3 separate regions of the Homo sapiens genome follow, and all the other regions are linked to region 3. The links are contacts of gene promoters, found by promoter capture Hi-C in human tissues and cell types (Jung and others, 2019). All regions are on one chromosome and are shown on one strand. The core of a region is centred on a gene start or on the middle of the fragment in contact, and the rest is flanking DNA. Distances in the headings are between cores, read along the strand shown.

Region 1 (2,831 bases), core at 112-2,611, 360 kb after region 3:
TAGAAACCTAAGCTATCTTTAAAGATAAGAAAGTTCATATTTATAAAGGTCTTCCTTTCCACTCTGATTTCATGATTTTCATAAATATAACTAAACTGTGATTTGTCATAAGCCAAAGTCACAAGTTGGACTTGTAACTGCAATGTATTAAATTTATATTTAGGCATTACATCTGTGTATCACTGTGTCCTTATGTATCTGATACTGTGAGATCAACAAAGCCTGGAGAAAGTGCTGGAGACACCTTCCTTATAGTCTAGTTCTTAGAAAACTCTCAATATTCAAAAGGCATTACATTTATTCTTTAAAACATTTTAAATAAGAAATGACTCCATTAAACAATCCACAAAGAAAGCCATCTCTCTTAAAGCTTTCCATGTTCATAAAACTCCCCAAATGTGTAGTTTTTATTTGGTAATTTAATTTCTGCTGCAGATGTCTATCCAATTTATTTGCGATTTATCACCGATTTTAATTTATAGTGAAAGTACTGGGCCAGATTTGTAAAGAGATAATATTTTTCTCCTCATTTCATTCTAGATTCAATGAATAATTGGTCTTTCCCATTATTATTAATTTATCTTTGCACACTAATGCTTTTGAACAATGATGAGTTTCACAAAATTCTTCTCCAGCTGTCACCTGGAAACTTTTTGTGCCAATGTTATTTTAGATTTATGCTAATAAAAATTTATTCCAGTTTTAAGACTTTAAATCCTCCTACATTTACTTGCCAAATACACCGTGTGAGTTCTTGAACAAGTTGCCTCCTTGCATCAGTCCATTTTCATGCTGCTGATAAAGACATACCTGAGACTGGGGAATTTACAAAAGAAATAGTTTCATTGGACTTACAGTTTCACATGGCTGGGGAGGCCTCACAATCGTGGTGGAAGGCAAGGAGGAGCAAGTCACATCTTACATAGATGGCAGCGGCAAAATGAGAGCTTGTGCAGAAAAACTCCCGTTTTTAAAACCATCAGATCTCATGTGACCCATTCACTATCACAAGGACAGCACAGGAGAGACCTGCCCTCATGATTCAATCATCTCTCACTGGGTTCCTTCCCACAATATGTGGGAATTATGGAAGCTCCAAGGTGAGATTTGTGTGGGGACACAGGGCTAAACCATATTGTTCTGCCCGGCCCCTGTAAAATCTCATATCTGCACATTTCAAAACCAATTATGCCTTCCCAACAGTCCCCCAAACTCTCAACTCATTTCAGCATTAACTCAAAAGTCCACAGCCAAAGTCTCATCTGAGACAAGGCAAGTCCCTTCCTCCTATGACCCTGTAAAATCAAAAGCAAGTTAGTTCCTTCCTAGATACAATGGGGATACAGGCATTGGGTAAATACAGCCATTCCAAATGGGAGAAATTGGCTGAAACAAAGGGGCTAAAGGCCCCAGGCAAGTCTGAAATCCAGTAGAGCAGTCAAATCTTAAAGCTCAAAGTGATCACCTTTGATTCCATGTCTCACATCCAGGTCCGCTGATGCAAGAGGTGGATTCCCATGGTCTTGGGGAGCTCTGCCCCTGTGCTTTGCAGGGTACAGCCTCCCTCCTGGCTGCTTTCATGGACTGATGTTGAGTGTCTGAATCTTTTCCAGGTGCACAGTGCAAACTTTTGGTGGATCTACCATTCTGGGAGCACAGTGCAAACTGTTGGTGGATCTATCATTCTGGGGTCTGGAGGATGGTGGCCGTCTTCTCACAGCTCCACTAAGTGGTATCCCAGTAGTGACTCTGTGGGGGGGCTCCAACCCCACATTTCCCTTCCATACTGCCCTAGCAGAGGTTCTCCATGAGGGCCCCACCCCTGCAGCAAACTTCTGCCTGGGCATCCAGGCATTTCCATACATCCTCTGAAATCTAGGTGGAGGTTCCTAAACCTCAATGCTTGATTTCTGTGCACCTGCAGGCTCAACACCATGTGGAAGCTGCCAAAGCTTGGGGCTTCCACCCTCTGAAGCCACGGCCTGAGCTCTATGTTGGCCCATTTCAGCCATGGCTGGGGCAGCTGGGACACAGGGCACGAAGTGCCTAGGCTGCACACAGCATGGGGACCTTGGGCCTGGCCCCCGAAACCACTTTTTCCTCCTAGGCCTCTGGGCCTGTGGTGGGAGGGGCTGCTGCAAAGGTCTCTGACAGTTGGAGATAGTTTCCCCATTGTCTTGGTGATTAACGTTTGGCTCCTCATTACTTATGCAAATTTCTGCAGCTCACTTGAATTTTTCCTCAGAAAATGGGATTTTCTTTTCTATTGCATTGTCAGGCTGCAAATTTTCTAAACTTTTATGCTCTGTTTCCCTTTTGAAACTGAATGCCTTTAACAGCGTCCAACTTTCCTCTTGAATGCTTTGTTGCTTAGAAATTTCTTCCACCATATACCCTAAATCATCTCTCTCAAGTTCAAAGCTCCACAAATCTCTAGGGCAGGGGCAAAATGCTGCCAGTCTTTTTGCTAAAAAATAACAAGAGTCACCTTTGCTCCAGTTCCCAATAAGTTCCTCATCTCCATCTGACACCACCTCAGCCTAAATTTCATTGTCCATATCATTATCAGCATTTTGGTAAAAGCCATTCAACAAGTCTCTAGGGAGTTCCAAACTTTCTCACATTTTCCTCTTCTTCTGAGCCCTCCAAACTGTTCCAACCTCTGCCTGTTACTTAGTTTCAAGGTTGCTTCCACATTTTTGGGTATCTTTTCAGCAGTGTCCCACTCTACTGGTACCAATTTATTGTGTTAGTCTGTTTTCATGCTCCTGATAAAGTCATACCTGAGATTGGGCAATTTACAAAAGAAAGAGGTTTATTGGACTTCCAGT
Region 2 (2,723 bases), core at 28-2,527, 430 kb before region 3:
CATTTTCGAATACTTCCAAGATGTTGTCCCACTGTCTTCTGGCTTGGATTGTTTCTCACAAGAAGTCTTCTGTCATTCTTATCTTTGTTTCTTCGTATTTCATGTGTCTTTTTTCTTCCCGTTTTTAAGATGTTTTTCTTTATTTATTTTAAGTAATTTTACTGTAATGTGCATTAGTATAGCTTTCTTCATTTTTCTTGTCCTTTGAGCTTCTTGGATCTATGGTTTTCTCATTTTTCTCAAATGTAGAAAATCTTTGGCGTTAAGTTTTTCAAATTATTTTTCTCTCATGGAGTCCAGTTACATGTATTTTATGTTGTTTTCATTTGGCCCATGACTATTGATCTTGGTTAATTTATTTTCAACTTATTTTTCTCTGTGTGTTTCATTTTGGATAGTTTCTATTGCTGTGTCCTTAGGTTTACTAATCTTTTCTTCTGCATTGTCTTATCTGCTATTAATCCCATCTAGTGCATTTTTTAATTTCAGGTACTCTTTTTTTAAATTCTATTAATTTAATATTTTAAAATATCTTATATGGCTTTTCTTCTAATGTGCTTATATTTTCTTCTACCTTCTTAAATACATGGAACATATCATAATAACTGTTTTTAATATCCTCATTTATTAATTCCATTATCCCTATCATATCTGGGTCTATTTCTGTTGATTGGTTTTTCTCATTGCAGATCATGTTATTCTGCTTTTTTGCATGCATGGCAATTATCTTTTGGATACCAGACATTGTGAAATTTACTTTATTGGGTACTGAATATTTTTTAATTTATTTAAATATTTTTTAGCTTTATTCTGAAACACAGTTTCGTTGGGAACAGTTTGATCCTTTTGAGTCTTTCTTTTTTTTTTTTGACAGAGTCTTGCTCTGTTGCCCAGGCTGGAGTGCAGTGACATAATCTGGGCTCACTGCAAGCTCTGCCTCCTAGGTTCCTGCCATTCTCCTGCCTCAGCCTCCTGAGTAGCTGGGACTACAGGTGCCTGTCACCACACCCGGCTAATTTTTTTGTATTTTTAGTAGAGACGGGGTTTCACCATATTAGCCAGGATGGTCTTGATATCCTGACCTTGTGATCCGCCCGCTTCAGCCTCCCAAAGTGCTGGGATTACAGGCGTGAGCCACTGCGCCCAGCCTTGAGTCTTTCTTTTAACCTTTCTTGCTTAGGACCAGAACAGCCTTTAGTTCAGGGCTAATTTTTTCCTACAGAGAGCAATACTTTGGAGTATTCTACCTGATACTCAGTGTATTCCAAGGTTTTTCCACTCTGACTTGTGGTCACATGTACCATTTCTAGCCTTGGGTGATCTTCAGGAATTATTCTACCTGTTCTTTTTCTGACCACGGGTTGTTCCCTCACATGCATGTGTGGAGGAGTCCTTTGTTGAAGACTCAAAAGGAAAACCCTGCAGATCTCTGGAGTTCTCTCTCAGTGTATTCCTCTCCTCTCAGTGCAACTAGCCCTTCACCATGCAGCCTTCTCCTCTCTGGTATTCTCTGATCCATGAATTCTGATAGCCTTGGCATCTACACATTCTCAACTCTGTTTCCTTAGTGTTAATTTTTCTTAAAATATCGCAACAGGTTAGTAGTGGGCAATTAATTTAAAAGTGGTTTATTTTCAAACATGAATCTCTGGCTTCCTTTCTCAAACTTTTATTACTGTTATAACACTGCCTAAAAGAGCTTTCACACTGGATCTGATGGCATCAATTAAATTTTTCTTATAAATGAAAGTGGTTTGGTAATGGTTTTAAATTTATGTTTGGTAAATACATTTTCAATATGGTCTAATTTTTTAAAATATTTTTATTTATTTATTTATTTTTTGAGAAGGAGTCTCACTCTGTTGCCCAGGCTGGAGTGCAGTGTGGCACGATCTTGGCTCACTGCAACCTCCACCTCCCAGGTTCAAGCGATCTCCTGCCTCTGCCTCACAAGTAGCTGGGATTACAGGCACCTGCCATCATGCCCAGATAATTTTTTTGTACTTTTAGTAGAGACGGGGTTTCACCATGTTGGCCAGGCTGGTCTCAAACATCTGACCTCAGGTGATCCACCTGCCCCAGCCTCCCAAAGTGCTGGGATTATGGGCATGAGCCACCGCGCCTGGCCGGTCTAATTGTTTTAAGCTTAATAGTTATTGTTTAGTTCTTAGATTATGTAAAAATTTTAGGAGTATCAAAAGAAGTTTTTGCTACATCATTCTTTACCAAATTTTAAGAATGTGCAGAACGAGGAATATAAAAATGCCCTAGAAATTTTTTTTAATGCTCTACTCTTATAATGTATGTTTTCTATGCATATATGAGGGAATTTTTATGTTTCTATCCTTTCAAATTATTTCTAAGTTGATGTTTTGGGAATGTGTAAAGTATCAAAAATGTGTTTAATGTAACTATTCACATCTGCTAACATTTTAATTATTTGATTTTTTAATTTCCAATAAAAATAACATATGATATTTGGTGTTGATGTTTATATTCTATATAAATATTCTGCTATAATATCACATATTCCTATGGTTCCTATCAAATGAAAAAATTCCCATGATTCTGTTCCTAATTCTTTTTGGATGATACTCTGAAAGCTAACAGTTGCCTTGGTAAAAATTAAAACATATATATTAAAAGTGCAGTCTCATTTTTTATTTACTCTCTAGTCTGTGGTTTCAGTGTTATTTTTTTTAAATTCAGATTTTAGTTTTCAA
Region 3 (2,700 bases), core at 74-2,573:
TAGCCATTAACCACCTGATAGATCTTCAACAGTCTACTGTCAACTTCATGCCATATTATCTATCGCTTTGTATTAGTCACATTAATGCTTTCTCTGTTAGGAAAATTAAGAAGGCTGATTGACCTTCCTTGACTTTTCAAACCTAGTAATATTATTACGGGATACAAAGCATTTTCATGCGAAGAACTCTCAAAGTTCTACTAGTAATTGACTTTAACTTATAACAAAGATTTTCATAACACAGCAAATCAAAAAGTCCCACTAAGCCACTTTTACAGTAGCCGGTTTTTAGCAAAAGGTAGGAACGCCAGTCTCAGAGGAGGAGCTCACATCACTAGTCCTTAGGTTTGCGATCCCCAATAGTTTCAAAGCTGAATGTCACACATTCCTACTGTAGGTCTTTTCTAATTCCAACAAAAGGCAGATCCTAGCGTTTTTAGGATTTCAATCGAACTAAATTCCAACTATAAATAGTTTGCCTGCCACCTTCTTACCCTTCCTCATTTCCACCTTCTTTTCCAAAAAAAATCAGAGAGAACGATCGTACTGCACTCGGCCTTTGATAATTTCCTCCCCAAACCCTTAAACTCATGAGTTCCTCCAAACTCCACTGAGGGGCCAACCAGAGGCGACAGACTTCCCAAAAAGCAAATGGCCCAGGCAGGGGCGACCCCAGAAAACTGGTAGTCCCCTTCCGCTCGCTTAACTCTCCCGCCTGGGCGACCAGAGGACGGAACAGGGGACGCCAGCTCATCCCCACTCCGTATTCGGTCCTGCATCCATCCCAGAGGCGAACACACCATGGGTTTTAGGAAACCATCGTTCCTCCTACTCCAAGGGACGCCGGCCAGGACCAGAGTCGGGGAAGTGGGGCCCGATTCACACACTCCGGGCTAAAACTCTCTCGGACCCGAAACCAGGCGAACCCGCCCAGTCACCTGAAGCTCCGCAAACGCCCTAGGGGGTCCCGCCCCCGCAGTGCCGGCCGCACACCCAGGCCCAGCTCGGAGGGACGCCGCGGCCCAGACCCGGGGGACGCAAATCGTGCACGGCCGACCCTGCCCGCTTGGGCCGCGGATCGGGGGGCGACGGCCCCACCACGCTCAGTCCCGCGCCCCGGGAGGACCCGGCCCGACGGGCGACGGCCGCTTACCTGAGGACCCGGCCGCGGCCGGGGCGAGAAGCCCGAGAAGACAAGCGAGGGAGCAGAAGCCCACGGGGCAACAGCGTGCGCCGCCGACCTCAGGCTCTAGCTCCCGGAGCGTGTTTTCAAATAGCCTCGTCCTCACGCGGCCGCGTCTCCTTCCGCCGCCCGGAAATCAGGGCCCCTCCCCCTCCCTGCTGTGCTCACGTGATCGCAGCCCGCAGCCGCGCGCAACCGGGGAGGCGGGAGCGGGAGCGGTAGGCCCCGCCCACAGAGGAGGGTACCCCGCCGGAAGCCCCCTGCTCTGTGGGAACCGGAGGGAGGACAGCGCGAGGTCCCCGGACAAAGCGTGGCGCATAAGTCCGGCCCGTAACTTGGTGGGCAGGCAACTTAGGGGATGTGGGCCTGGTTATAGCTGAGCATGCTTTTCTATTCCTCCCAGACCACAGTTCTTCAGACCTGGAGCCACTTTCAGAGAAGAGTATAAGTTGCACTGAATTGAAAAAGGGAAAAGTTTAGGACTGCAGAAGATGGAATTCCTGGGGACGTTAAACTGGGCTAAGATGGAGCAGATAAGATTTCCTTAATTAGAGCAAGACACACCTAGTATCTAGAGCCTGGAAGTCTTGGTCAAGGATTCTCCCTAACATCTCAGTTTCTCAGCACTAACATTCCTGCTACTAAAATGAAGTGAGAAATTAATTTCTGAAGTTAAGTAAAGAAATAAACTAAAATTCCTAGAAAAGAGGTAAGAAGAATGAGCCTTTGAAAAATGTCTTCACAAAGACTGGCATGATGGCATGGAAGAAAGAGCCCCAGGTAAGGACTTCAGACCTTGATTCAAATTTGTGTCTACACCTCACCAGATAATTAAGACTTAGTAAAGCTAGCGAAGATATTGACCCTCATTATATTGGGTGGGAATTCAAAGGAATGATGTCTAAATCCAGGGAGACCCAAGCACTGGAACTAAAACCATGCCTGTTCCATAATCGGAGATAAAGAGGCAGCGCTAGAAACCCTGACCTCCCTTTGCTGGCAATATGGCCACATCACCACAATCTGCCTGGAATCGACCATAACCATAAATATTTGGGAGTCATTGGCATTATGTGGCATTATATTCTGTTTAAAGCTATGAGACTAGATCAGAAGAGGAAAGATTTATTGCCAACCAGACAAGTCCCTGGAACTCCAAACTTGTATCCAACAGTTTTTTCAATGTTTCCTTCAGATATCCAGTATACATCTCAAGGTCAACTTGTCCAAAACAGAGCTACTGATGATTTTCCCCTTGAAATCTACTCTTCCTACAGCTTATTCATCTCAAATAGTAAGTCTGTCCTTGCAGTTACTCAAGCAGAAACCTTTGGGTTTTTGGTTTGGCCTCTTTGTTCCACACCTCACATCTAATCCATCTGGAGATTGACTCTACCTTTAAAGACATCCTAACTTTCACCAGTTAACACACCTCCCCTGCTACCATTCTGGTCCAAGCCGCTTCTTGATCACTGCAAAAAGCCTGCAAACACATCTTCCTGCTTCCCTTATTGTCC

The links. Contacts are between HindIII fragments. The study calls those that stand out against the background at their distance.
Region 1: a fragment that was not itself captured here is called in contact with the fragment with the promoter of TEX10 in region 3 in 1 of the 25 tissues and cell types used here (dorsolateral prefrontal cortex).
Region 2: a fragment that was not itself captured here is called in contact with the fragment with the promoter of TEX10 in region 3 in 1 of the 25 tissues and cell types used here (lymphoblastoid cells).

What each region holds. Positions count from the first base shown.
Region 1 is chr9:100,710,624-100,713,454 of GRCh38, forward strand. No RefSeq gene overlaps it. Among named protein-coding and RNA genes, the nearest start is that of CAVIN4, 130 kb to the left of the region's middle. The HindIII fragment of the contact is 5,997 bases long and covers 1-2,831 here.
Region 2 is chr9:99,925,649-99,928,371 of GRCh38, forward strand. The region is part of intron 2 of STX17 (syntaxin 17); the gene reads left to right. Among named protein-coding and RNA genes, the nearest start is that of STX17, 20 kb to the left of the region's middle. The HindIII fragment of the contact is 5,591 bases long and covers 1-2,723 here.
Region 3 is chr9:100,351,619-100,354,318 of GRCh38, forward strand. It overlaps TEX10 (testis expressed 10), which reads right to left and starts at 1,324. Exons shown (of 15, transcript NM_017746.4): 1 at 1,154-1,324. It overlaps LOC105376177 (a long non-coding RNA gene), which reads left to right and starts at 1,432. Exons shown (of 4, transcript NR_188642.1): 1 at 1,432-1,963; 2 at 2,379-2,477. RefSeq lists enhancers at 563-612, 1,017-1,651 and a silencer at 953-1,502. The HindIII fragment of the contact is 15,352 bases long and covers 1-2,700 here.